Regions from separate parts of the Homo sapiens genome. Here region 2 is linked to region 1. The links are contacts of gene promoters, found by promoter capture Hi-C in human tissues and cell types (Jung and others, 2019). All regions are on one chromosome and are shown on one strand. Each heading gives the region's core, a stretch centred on a gene start or on the middle of the fragment in contact. The rest is flanking DNA. Distances are from core to core; before and after follow the strand shown. Region 1 holds the start of SLC5A5 (solute carrier family 5 member 5). Region 2 has its middle 10 kb from the start of UNC13A.

Evidence for each region. The method cuts DNA at HindIII sites, captures the fragments that hold promoters and counts their contacts. A contact is called where the count stands out against the background at its distance.
Region 2: a fragment that was not itself captured here is called in contact with the fragment with the promoter of SLC5A5 in region 1 in 2 of the 25 tissues and cell types used here (lymphoblastoid cells and spleen).

Annotation. Positions count from the first base shown.
Region 1 is chr19:17,867,406-17,873,680 of GRCh38, reverse strand. SLC5A5 (solute carrier family 5 member 5) reads right to left here and starts at 1,736. Exons shown (of 15, transcript NM_000453.3): 1 at 1,005-1,736. The coding sequence starts at 1,361. RefSeq lists enhancers at 3,614-4,267, 4,268-4,921. The HindIII fragment of the contact is 15,663 bases long and covers 1-3,832 here.
Region 2 is chr19:17,695,702-17,701,334 of GRCh38, reverse strand. No RefSeq gene overlaps it. Among named protein-coding and RNA genes, the nearest start is that of UNC13A, 10 kb to the right of the region's middle. The HindIII fragment of the contact is 6,509 bases long and covers 1-5,016 here.

The sequences.
Region 1 (6,275 bases), core at 487-2,986:
AGGTTCAAGCAATTCTTCTGCCTCAGCCTCCTGAGTAGCTGGGATTACAGGCGCGCGCGACCATGCCCGGCTAATTTTTGTATTTTTAGTAAAGACGGGGTTTCACCATGTTAGCCAGGCTGGTCTTGAACTCCTGACCTCGTGATCCACCCACCTCGGCCTCCCAAAGTGCTGGGATTACAGGCGTGAGCCACTGCGCCCTGCCACAATATTTTTTTTTCCTTTGAGACAAGAGTCTCGCTCTGTCGCCCAGGCTGGAGTGCAGTGACGCGATATCGGCTCACTGCAACCTCCCGGGTTCAAGCAATTCTCCTGTCTTAGCCTCCCAAGTAGCTGGGATTACAGGTGCCCACCACCACATCCGGCTAATTTTTGTATTTTTAGTAGAGACGGGGTTTCGCCATGTTGGCCAGGCTGGTCTTGAACTCCTGACCTCAGGTGATCTGCATGCTTTGGCCTCCCAAAGTGCTGGGATTACAGGCGTGAGCCACCGCACCGGGCCCCGGTCACGATTTTAATCGCTTTACCCTCTCCCCTGGAGGGAGGTCCTGTAATTCGCCCATTGGACAGCTGGGAAACCCAAACAGAGAGGCACGCCCCTTGCCCAAGATACAAGAAAGCAGTGAAGCCAGGTTTCGAACCCCGGAGCCGTCAGCAGTCCCCTCTAGCGCGCACACGTGGGTCTGCACGCCCGGGCAGGTGGGGGGCAGGTGTGTGTCCACCCGTGAGGACACACCTGGTCGAGCCGGGCCCCGCCCCGCGCGCGCTTCCACCGAAGGAGCAGGACGCCAGGCTCTCTCTTCCTCCTTCCTGCCCCTCGCCGGGCGCCTGGGGCCTCTTCCTAGAACCCTCCCCACGTGTCTGCCTAGGGGCCCCTTCCGTTAAAGCACCGAGGTGCCATCCGCGTCCTCCTGTACAGCGGCCCAAAGCCCCAGCGCCTCCCCCACACGGGGTCCCAGCACTGCCAGTGGGGCAGGTCCTACCCCCGGGCCTCTGTCCGGTACCTCGTAGGTGCTGGTGAGGCCCAGGCGGTAGAAGACGGGCATGAAGAGCAGGGCGGTGAGGACCGAGTTCAGAAGCTGGCCCAGGCACATCCAGAGGAACTTGAGGCCATAGCGATAGGCCTCCGACGGCACGCCCAGCACCTGCACGGCCGACATGAAGCTGGCAGACAGCGACAGGCCCACGGGCAGGGCCGCCAGGCGCCGGCCCCCGGTGAAGAAGTCCTCAGCGCTGCGCTGCCCGCCCCGAGCCAGCCCGACCCACAGCCCGATGCCAGTGGACACCAGGAGCATGAGGGCAAAGACCCCGTAGTCCCAGGCTCCGAAGGTGGGCCGTTCCCCGGTCTCCACGGCCTCCATGAGGGCGGGTGCGGAGGCCCAGCGCGTCCTCGGACGCCCTGCGTGCTCAAGCGGGGGAAGCTGGCAGGGGCCGAGGAGGCAGGACGGGGAGGGCGGGTGGGAGGATGCTCGGCAGCCTGTCCCCGCTCCGTCTGGGGTGGGAAGCGGCGAGAGGGGCCGGGGCTCCCTGGGTTAGGAATCTATGGGCTGTCGATGTCCGTGTCGGCCTCCCTGTCCCCGCTGTCTGTCTCTGCGTCCGCCCCTGCTGTCTGTCTGTCCTGCCACCTCCCCTCTCACTCTGGGTTCCGCTGTCCCATGCAGCCGGCTGTCTGTCCCTCTCCCTGGGCGCTGTGCTCAGCGCTGACAGCTGGAGGTCGCCTTGGGGCTTACGGGAGCAGCTCGTGATTGTGGGTTGCAGATTTATTGGGCTCCCGGGTCACCGCGACTCCGCCTCCAGACCTAGGGGCGGGCAGGACCCGCACCCTTTCAGCCCTGGACTGGGACAGACAGGCCAGGACAGGCTATCTGGGTGGCTGCAGGGGGTGGTATCGGGGAGGGCTCCCAAATGCCCCTCCATCCCCATGCACCCACCCATCCCCATGCACTGTGATCCCCTGATCACAGCTGTCACTGTCTGCTGTTGACAGGTGGGGAAATTGAGGCTCAGAGAGGGCATGTCACTATCCAAGCCTGCACAGCCTGCTTCAGCACTCAAAGCCGTATTGTGCTTGAATACCTTGAGCTATGGGGAGCTCACTTTCATGCAGGACTGGGGTTCACTTTCAGGGTTTCAGGGGACCCATAAAGAAAACTTACCTGGCTTTACCACCCCCAAACTGGCATGTGGGCCTACCCCCTTTCTCTAGAGCCTTAGGGGGTGGGCATCACTGAACCCCGCTCTTGGGCTAAGCTGGGTGGGAGACATTCAGAGCTCAAGTTCTGAGTGGGTACATACTTGGGGAAGACTTTGCTCCTCCCTGGGCCTTAGTTTCCCCATCTGTAACAAGGATAAAATAGACCCTGCCTCAGAGGAATAAATGGGACGTGGTAACGAAAGCCTGGTACATGATAAGTGCCTCATTCATTTATTCCTTTATTCATTTGTCACTTCATTCATTCATTCATTGGTTCCTTTGCAGATATGCACTGAGAGTTGGCCCTGTGCCAGGCATAAATGGCTCACTGAGGTGGTGCGAGGGGCCTTTAAGGTTATGAACCCGAATAAGCGGAGACCATGACCACCAGGGAGGTAGAGTCTGGCTTGTCCCTATCATATAGATGAGGAAACCAAGGTTGGGTGTGGGAGAAAGTCTACTGGGGGGGTCACGCTTCCATGAGGACCAACGAGCTGTCATCTCAGGGCCCTTCTCTGGGGGACCCAGGAGGACTTTGACCTCTGGAGGTTCTGGTCTCTGGGTTCAAGTCTCAGCTCAGCCTCCAACTTTCTGGGCAATCACGCATCTCAAACTTGGTTCCCTTCTCCATAAGCTGGTGGAATCTGAAATCCTGGGGGTTGAAAGAAACAGCGTCAGAGGCCGGGCATGATGGCTTATGCCTGTAATCCCAGCACTTTGGGAGGCTGAAGTGGGAGGATCATTTGAGTCCCAGAATTCGAGACTACCCTGAGCAACATAGTGAGATCTTGTCTGTATGAAAAATACAAATATTAGCGAGGCGTGGTGGCACATGCCTGTAATCCCAGCTACTCAGGAGGCTGAAGTGGGAGGATCGCTTGAGCGTGGAAGTTCGAGGCTGCAATGAGCTGTGGTCGAGAACTGCACAGCACTCCAGCCTGGGCAGCACAGCAAGACCCCGTCTCCAAAAAAAAAAAAAAAAAAAAAAAAAGGGCTTTTGAGCGCTTCTCGCCAGCCTCTGCTGCTCCCTGGTGGCCTCCTCTGGCCTACCCTCTGCCCTGGCCGCTCCAGCTGGGTCCAGCGTTTCTCAACGCGTCCCCACGTAACCCCCGGACAGTCCTCTTGCTCCCTCTCTGCTGTGCAGGGTGGACCTGTCCCTCCCCCGGGGCTGTGACACTGCGGCGGCTACGCGGGCACCTGTTGCCGGCTGGAGCGTACCTCCTGCCCTCGCCAGGAGAGTGGGTTAGGCACCTAGTTCTTTCTCCTTCCACCCTGGTCAGGCATCCTCCTGGAAACCCCGTTGGAAAAGGGGAGATCCGGCCGGGTGCGGTGTCTCACTCCTGTAATCCCAGCACTTTGGGGGGCCGAGGCGGACGGGTCTCTTGAGATCCGTTCAAGACCAGTCTGGCCAACATGGTGAAACCCCGTCTCTACTAAAAATACAAGAATTAGCCGGGCGTGGTGGCGGCCGCCTGTAATCCCAGCTACTTGGGAGGCTGAGGCGGGAGAATCGCTTGAGCCCGGGAGGTGGAGGTTGCAGTGAGCCGAGATCGCGCCACTTCACTCCAGCCTGGGCGACAGAGAGAGATTCCGTCTCAAAAAATAAATAAATAAACAAATAAATAAATAAAAATCAAGGCTGGGCGCGGTGGCTCACGCCTGTAATCCTAGCACTTTGGGGGGCCGACGCGGGCGGATCACGAGGTCAGGAAATCGAGACCATCCAGGCCAACGTGGTGAAACCCCGTCTCTACTAAAAATACAAAAATTAGCCGGGCGTGATGGCACGCGCCTGTAGTCCCAGCTACTCGGGAGACTGAGGCAGGAGAATCGCTTGAACCCGGGAGGCGGAGGTTGCAGTGAGCCGAGATCGTGCCACTGCACTCCAGCCTGGCGACAGAGCGAGACTGTCTCAATCAATCAATCAATCAATCAATGGGAGATCCGAGCGGGATCCCCTACTTGCAAAGCCCTGCCGACCAATGTAAACATATGCAAATTGTGCAAATACATGTAAATGGACCCCTTCTCTCCAGGGAAGTTCTGGGAAGGCATAGCTTCTCTTCTTCCCACCGTGGGGTCCAGGCTGCGGCCAGAGGCCTGGGCTGAGGCCGGTTCATTGAGTGCATACTGTGTGCAGGGCCCTCCGGCAGGTGCTGGGGACACAGCATGATCCAGGTGGACCCACCCCAGGGTGGTGATGGCCCTGACCTCACCAGCAGATAAATACTGATTTCAGCTGGGCACTGTGGCTCACACTTATAATCCCAGCACTTTGGGAGGCTGAGGTGGGAGGATCGCCAGAGCCCGGGAGGTCAAGGCTGCAGTGAGCAGTGATCACACCAGTGAATTCCAGCCTGGATACAGGTTGAGCAGAGACAGACAATCACGGGGTATCTTCTGGGCCTCCGGAAGGGGTGTGGATTTTGTTCTGAGGGTGCTGGGGAACTGTAGGAGAGTTTGGAGCAGGTGAGGAGTCTGATGAGATTTCTAGATTCTGAAAAATGGGTCATATCCAAGTGGCGGGAGTGGGGTGGCTGCCGAGTGGGGGGAGGGGGGTGGATTTGGAAAGCACTTTGGAATTCCTAAGGAGGCCTGGAGTGAAGGCCCCTGCAGAGTGTGCAGGACCATCTCCTGCCCTAGCGGAGGGAATTGTGAGCCTGGAGAGGAAAAGCAGCAGAGTGGGGAGAATCAGGTCACACCTTCCTTGACTGTGATTCCAATGACAGAAGCGGGCAGCAGGACCCCAGGATGTGAGTTAGGAAGGGCCCAAGGCCGCGGCAGACAATGTGAGCAGAATGTGCAGGAATGGGAGAGTGGTGGCAGTGTCGGGGCGCTGTCCCCTGCCCCTTGGTTCCCTGGGAGATGCAGCAGGGGTTGGGGTGAGAAGTTGTGAGCTGCTGTGACTGCAGCACGACCTGCTGGGTGGCCCTGGACATCAATTCCCCTTCTGTGAGCTAGGAGTGACAGTGGGATTTGAACCCACGCCATGGGGAGCCAGAATCTGTCCTTGAACTTCAACTCTGCACTCAACAAGTGCAAAAAGGCCAGTTTCGGTGGCTCATGCCTGTAATCTCAGCACTTTGGGAGGCCAAGCCAGGAAGATGGCTGGAGGCTAGGAGTTGGAGACCAGCCTGAACAATATAGTGAGACCCCAACTCTACAATTTTGTTTGTTTGTTTGTTTGTTGTATTTTTAGTAGAGAAGGGGTTTCACCATGTTGGCCAGGCTGGTCTCGAACTCCTGACCTCACATGATCCACCCACCTCTGCCTCCCAAAGTGCTAGGACTACAGGTGTGAGCCACCATGCCCAGCCAAAAATTTTTAAAAGTTAGCCGAGTTTGGTGGTGTGCACCTGTGGTCCCAGCTACTTAGGAGGCTGAAGCAGAAGGATTGGTTGAGCTGGGGAGGTTGAGGCTGCAGTGAGCGGTGATTGCGCCACTGCACTTTAGCCTGGGCGACAGAAGAAGACCCTGTCTCTAAAAAAATAAATAAATGCAAACTATTCTTCCTTGTTGCTGCTGCTGTCTGTAAGATTCCACAATTCGACTGGGCACGGTGCTCACGCTTGTAATCCCAACACTTTTGGAGGCCCAGGCAGGTGGATCATCTGAAGTCAGGAGTTCAAGCCCACCCTGGCCAACATGAAGAAACCCCGTGTCTACTAAAAACACAAAAAACTAGCCAGGCATGGTGGCAGGCATGTGTAATCCCAGCTACTCGGGAGGCTGAAGCAGGAGAATCGCTTGAACCCAAGAGGCAGAGGTTGCAGTAAGCTAAGATCATGCCATTGCACTCCAACCTGGGCAGCAAGAGTGAAACTCCATCTCAAAAAAAAAAAAAAAAAAAAAAAGATTCCATAATTCTAAGTCCTGAGACTCAACTGTGAGTCTCAGATTCTGTGATTCTCATATAGTCTCTCTTGGTTGCAGGAACTGGGGCTGGGGTCTCTTGGGGTCCCTACTCGTCTGTCCTGCTTTGGCACTGCCTTTGTCCCCACTGGTTCTGACTCAGGAGCAGAAGTGCAGGGCGGGTCAGGGAGGGGAGGCTTTGAATGTCGCTCCCCCAGGGATCACGGCC
Region 2 (5,633 bases), core at 513-3,012, 170 kb after region 1:
TGTAATCCTAGCACCTTGGGAGGCTGAGGCAGGCAGATCACTTGAGGTCAAGAGTTCAAAACCAGCCTGGCCAACATGGTGAAAACCTGTCTCTACTAAAAATACAAAAAACTAGTGGGGCGTGGTGGCGGGTGCCTGTAATCCCAGCTACTCAGGAGGCTGAGGTACAAGAATCGCTTGAACCTAGGAGGCGGAGGTTGCAGTGAGCCGAGATTGTGCCACTGCACTCCAGCCTGGGCAACAGAGGGAGACTCTGTCTCAAACAAACAAAACAAAACAAACAAACTAAAAAAGAGACAGAGTCTCACTCTGTCACCTAGACCCAGGCTGGAGTGCAGTAGTGCAGTCATAGCTCACTGCAGCCTCCATCTCCTTGGCTCAGGCAGTCCTCCCACTGCAGCCTCCTGAGTAGCTGGGACTACAGGCACACACCACCATGCCCAGCTCATTTAAAAATTTTTGTAGAGATGGGGTCTCACTCTGTTGCCCAGGCTGATCTCAAAATCCTGGTCTCCCTCAAGGAATCCTCCCGCCTCGGCCTCCCAAAGTGCTGGGATTACAGACATAAGCCACTGCACCTGACCTGGACTCATTCTTGTCCCTTCTCTTTCCTTACCCTGCATGTTCAGTGCATCAGCAGGTCCTGCAGTCTCCGGCTCCAGAATGAAACTGAGCCTCCCTGAGCTCCTAAGGGGCCTGCTGTATCTTGTGTGGATGCTGTCCTGGCTCCCTGCCACCTACACTCCTGCCCCCAGCCATCCTTGCTCCCCTAGGGAGCCCCAGATGGATTCTTAAAATCATAAAGCAGGCCGGGAGCGGTGGCTCACGCCTGTAATCCCAGCACTTTGAGAGGCCAAGATGGGCAGATCACGAGGTCAGGAGATCGAGACCATCCTAGCTAACATATGAAACCCCGTCTCTACTAAAAATACAAAAAAATTTAGCTGGGCGTGGTGGTGGGCACCTATAGTCCCAGCTACTTGGGAGGCTAAGGCAGGAGAATGGCGTGAACCCGGGAGGCAGAGCTTGCAGTGAGCCGAGATCGCGCCACTGCACTCCAGCCTGGGCGACAGAGCGAGACTCCATCTCAAAAAAAAAAAAATCATAAAGCAGATCACGCCCTTCCTCTGCTCAAAGCCCTCCCGTGGCTCCCTATTACCCTCATAGTATAGCCCACACTCTTTCCTGTGATCAGGAGGCCTGGCATAGTCTGTATCCCTGCTGACCTGCCCCCCTCCCCGCCCCCGACTCCATCCCTCCCTCACTCCCTCCACCACGTACTGACTCACTCATGTTTATGGAGTGCCCACAGTGTTCTGATTCCGTTTTCCGTTCAAGGTGGTCACTCCCTGCCAGTGCAGTTGGGGGCATCAGAGAGAGGTCTGGGGGTGGGGAGACACGGGTTAGAACAAGACCTCAGTGGCCACTTAGGCTTGGGCTGGAGTCTCAGCCCTGTCTTGCAGAGCTGAACCCCCATCTCTTCTTCCTTCTCAGTCACTCTCTCTCCATCTCTCTGTCTGTCCATCTCAGAGTAAATTCCAGAGCCTTCTCCATCCCCTGCCCTGAGGCCCTGAATGACCTTCCCCCGCAGTTCCCTTTCTCTCTATTCTTCTTCTTCTTCTTCTTCTTCTTTTTTTTTTTTTTGAAACAGAGTCTCGCTGTTTTGCCCAGGCTGGAGTGCAGTGGCACAATCTCTGTTCACTGCAACTTCTGCCTCCCAGGCTCAAGTGATTCTCCTGCCTCAGCTTCTGGAGTACCTGGGACTACAGGCGTGCACCACCACCCCTGTCTAATTTTTGTAATTTTTTAGTGGAGACGGGGTTTCACCATGTTGGGCAGGCTGCTCTCGAACTCCTGACCTCAGGTTATCTGCCCGCCTTGGCCTCCCAAAGTGCTGGGATTACAGGGGTGAGTCACCATGTCCGGTCCCCTTTCTCTCTTTTCCTCTCTCCCCCTCACTCATTCACACAAGCCTTCTCGGCTTCTCCAACACACCAGGCACAGCCTCACCTCAGGGCCTTTGCACCTGTCCTGTGAATGCCTGTCCCTCATCTCTCTCCCTGCCTGGCTCCACCTCTTTTACATCTTGGCTCTCGTGTTGCCTCCTCCGGGAAGCAGATTCCCCCACCCCTTCCATCCCTCTCTGTCACCAGACCCTTCCCATCGCCTCATAATCGTCCTTGACTTCCTCTGCCTGCTTGTTCATTCCCACTTCCCATGCTAGGGACAATGTCGCCTGGCAGAACCTGGTGACAAGCTTAGTTCCCAGCATCCAGATGGCACCAGCAAACGCTGGCTGAACAAATTGACGTCTCATCGGTATCCGTCTACTCCATGGAGCTTTGCACAGTGCCAGGAACATCAAATGCACCCCGTAAGGACTGGGAATTTATCTGAAGACCAAGCAAGTTTGCCTTGGATTGGGGCTGCTAGAAAAAGCTCTGCCCAGCCGGGTGCGGGTACCTTATGCCTGTAATCCCAGCACTTTGGGAGGCCAAGGTGGGAGGATTGCTGGAGCCCAGGAGTTCAAGAGCAGACTGGGAAACCCGATGAAACCTCATCTCTACAAAAGTACAAAAAATTAGCTGGGGCCGGGCGCGGTGGCTCATGCCTGTAATCCCAGCACTTTGGGAGGCCGAAGGGGGCACATTGCCTGAGGTCAGGACTTTGAGACCAGCCTGGCCAACATGGTGAAACCCCTTCTCTACTAAAAATGCAAAAAAAATTAGCTGGGTGTGGTGGCGTGCGCCTGTAATCCCAGCTACTCGGGAGGCTGAGGCAGGGGAATTGCTTGAACCAGAGAGGTGGAGGTTGCAATGAGCCGAGATTGCGCCATTGCATTCCAGCCCGGGCGACAGAGACTCCATTTCAAAAAAAAAAAAAAAAACTTAGCTGGGCATGGTGGTGTGTACCTGCAGTCCTGGCTACTCAGGAGGCTAAGGTGGGAGGATCACCTGAGCCTGGGGAGGTCGAGGCTGCAGTGAGCCGTGATTGTGCCGCTGCACTCCAGCCTGGGCGACAGAGTGAGACACCATCTCACAAAAAGAAGAAAAAAAGCTCTTACCATTCATTCTCCATTCAAAAGCTGAGCTGGACAGATGCTGTGCCGTGAAACTCTTCTCATCTAAAGCCCAGATGTTTTCATCGCTGCTTTTGGCACCGGGGGTGGGCAGGTTTTGATAAGAGCAGGGTCCCTGGGGAAGCCCTGGAGCTCAGCAAGGCAGGAATGATGTGTCTGCATTTGCTGGCAGTGGTAGCCTCACTCTGCAGGTGGGGGGGTTGTACTTTTCACCAGCCTGTACATTATCTCCCATCACTTCTCTTTCCATTATTTTTCTTTGTGGGTTTCCTAGGGTGGTGGAGAGAAAGCATGAAATTGGAAGCCAAGAGAAGAGAGATGGAAAGACACAGAGAGTCACACAGGGTTTGCAAAGGCTCCAAATGCAGATGCACCTGGAGGGGAATGAAGTTAAGAGGGGGCCACATGGAGGTTGCAGTGAGCCGAGATCTTGTCACTGCACTTCAGTCTGGGTGACAAAGACTGTCTCAAAAATAAGTAAATAAATAAATAAATAAAAGAGGGGGCCGGCCGGGTGTGGAGGCTCACGCCTGTAATCTCAGCACTTTGGGAGGCCAAGGCAGGTGGATCACGTAAGGTCAGGAGTTCGAGACCAGCCTGGCCAAGATGGTGAAACCCCGTCTCTACTAAAAATACAAAATTAGCCAGGTGTGGTGGCTCATGCCTGTAATCCCAGCTACTTGGGAGGCTAAGGCAGGAAAATCGCTTGAACCTGGGAGGCGGAGGTTGCAGGCTGAGATGATGCCACTGCACTCCAGCCTGGATGACAAGAGGAAAACTGTGTCTAAAAAAAAAAAGAGGGGGCCACAGAGAAGAGAGGGCAAGAGAAGACAGAAGCAGCATGGCATAATTAATTGGAGGGAGGAGGAGACAGCTCAAATCAATACCTTTCGAATCAGCCGAGCTATGCTGTTGGTGGGAATGAAATGAGGCACCAGGGCTTAAAAATTAATTGGATCCAAATGATCAATGATGAACGTTGAAACATTCTCTTTCAGAATTGGAACAAGGCAGGAATGCCTGTTAACATGGTGCTGCGCATTTTACTAAAGAAAACAAGAAATGAAAGTTCTGAGGAGTGGAAAGGAGGAATTAAGGGTGTCTTTAGGCCTGGCACGGTGGCTCACGCCTGTAATCTCAGCACTTTGGGAGGCCAAGGCGTTCGAGACCTTGAGGCCAGGAGTTCGAGACCAGCCTGGCCAATGTGACGAAACCCCATCTCTACTAAAAATACAAAAAATAGCTGGGCGTGGTGGCTTGCCTGACCTGGACTCACTCTTGTCCCTTCTCTAATCCCGGCTACTCGGGAGGCTGAGGCAGGGGAATTGCTTGAACCAGGGAGGTGGAGGTTGCAATGAGCCGAGATTGCGCCACTGCACTCCAGCCTGGGGGACAGAGTGAGAATCCATCTCAAAAAAAAAAAATTAGCTGGGCATGGTGGTGTGTACCTGTAGTCCTGGCTACTCAGGAGGCTAAGGTGGGAGGATCACCTGAGCCTGGGGAGGGTAATCCCAGCTATGTGGGAGGCTGAGACACAAGAATTGCTTGAACCCAGGAGGCAGAGGTTGCAGTGAGCCAAGATCGCACCACTGTACTCCAGCCTGGGTGACAGAGCGAGACCCTGCCTCAAAAAAAAAAAAAAAAAGGAAAAAGAAAAAAAAAAGAGTGTCTTTATTTGCAGATAACATCCTCATACGCAATAAACTCCCAAAGAATGTGCACATCTAATTATTGGGTTTACAAAAAGTTGAGAAAGCTTGATAGATGCTGGTCACAGTGGCTTACGACTGTAATCCCAGCACTTTGGGAGATGAGGCAAGAGGATCGCTTGAGCCCAGGGGTTCAAGACCAGCCTGGGCAACATAGGGAGACCCCGTATCTACAAAAAATAAAAAATTAGTCAAGAATGGTGACATAAACCTGTAGTCCCAGCTACTGGGGTGGCTGAGGCAAGAGGATCACTTGAGCCAGGGAGGTTGGGGCTATAATGAGGTATGATTGCACCACTGCACTCCAGAAAGGGTGACAGAGTCAGACCCTGTCCCCCAAATAAATAGGCCACTTATCCACAGCACCAAATACTCAAAGCATCTAGAAAAAAATCCCAAAGTTATAAGCTTTGCTGAAAGATAGATAAATGGAATTATTCACTGTATGTTCACTTTGAAAGATTCAATCACAAAAGATGCTCATTCTCCTGATTTGGTTTATAGATTCAATGCAATTCCAATCTAAGTCCCAACTGAGTTTCTCCATGCAACCCAAAAAGCTGAGAAGAAAGCAAAGAATAAGTCAGATGCTTGTGAAGCAGAGCAAGATGAGTGACTGGTGTTGGCAGATGTAAACGATTAGCACAAAGCTTCTACCAGGAATAGATCAGCCTCTGGGACAGAAGAGAGATCCTAGACCAGACTTCCAGGTGGGCAGACATCCAGCAGCACTGCTTGACTTCTGGTTGGTCTATGCTTGCTGTTAAATCCACACATGCATGAAAACTTGCTTTGTGAGTTTCATTACAGGGTATTGGGACAATAGATCATCCCCATGGACAAAA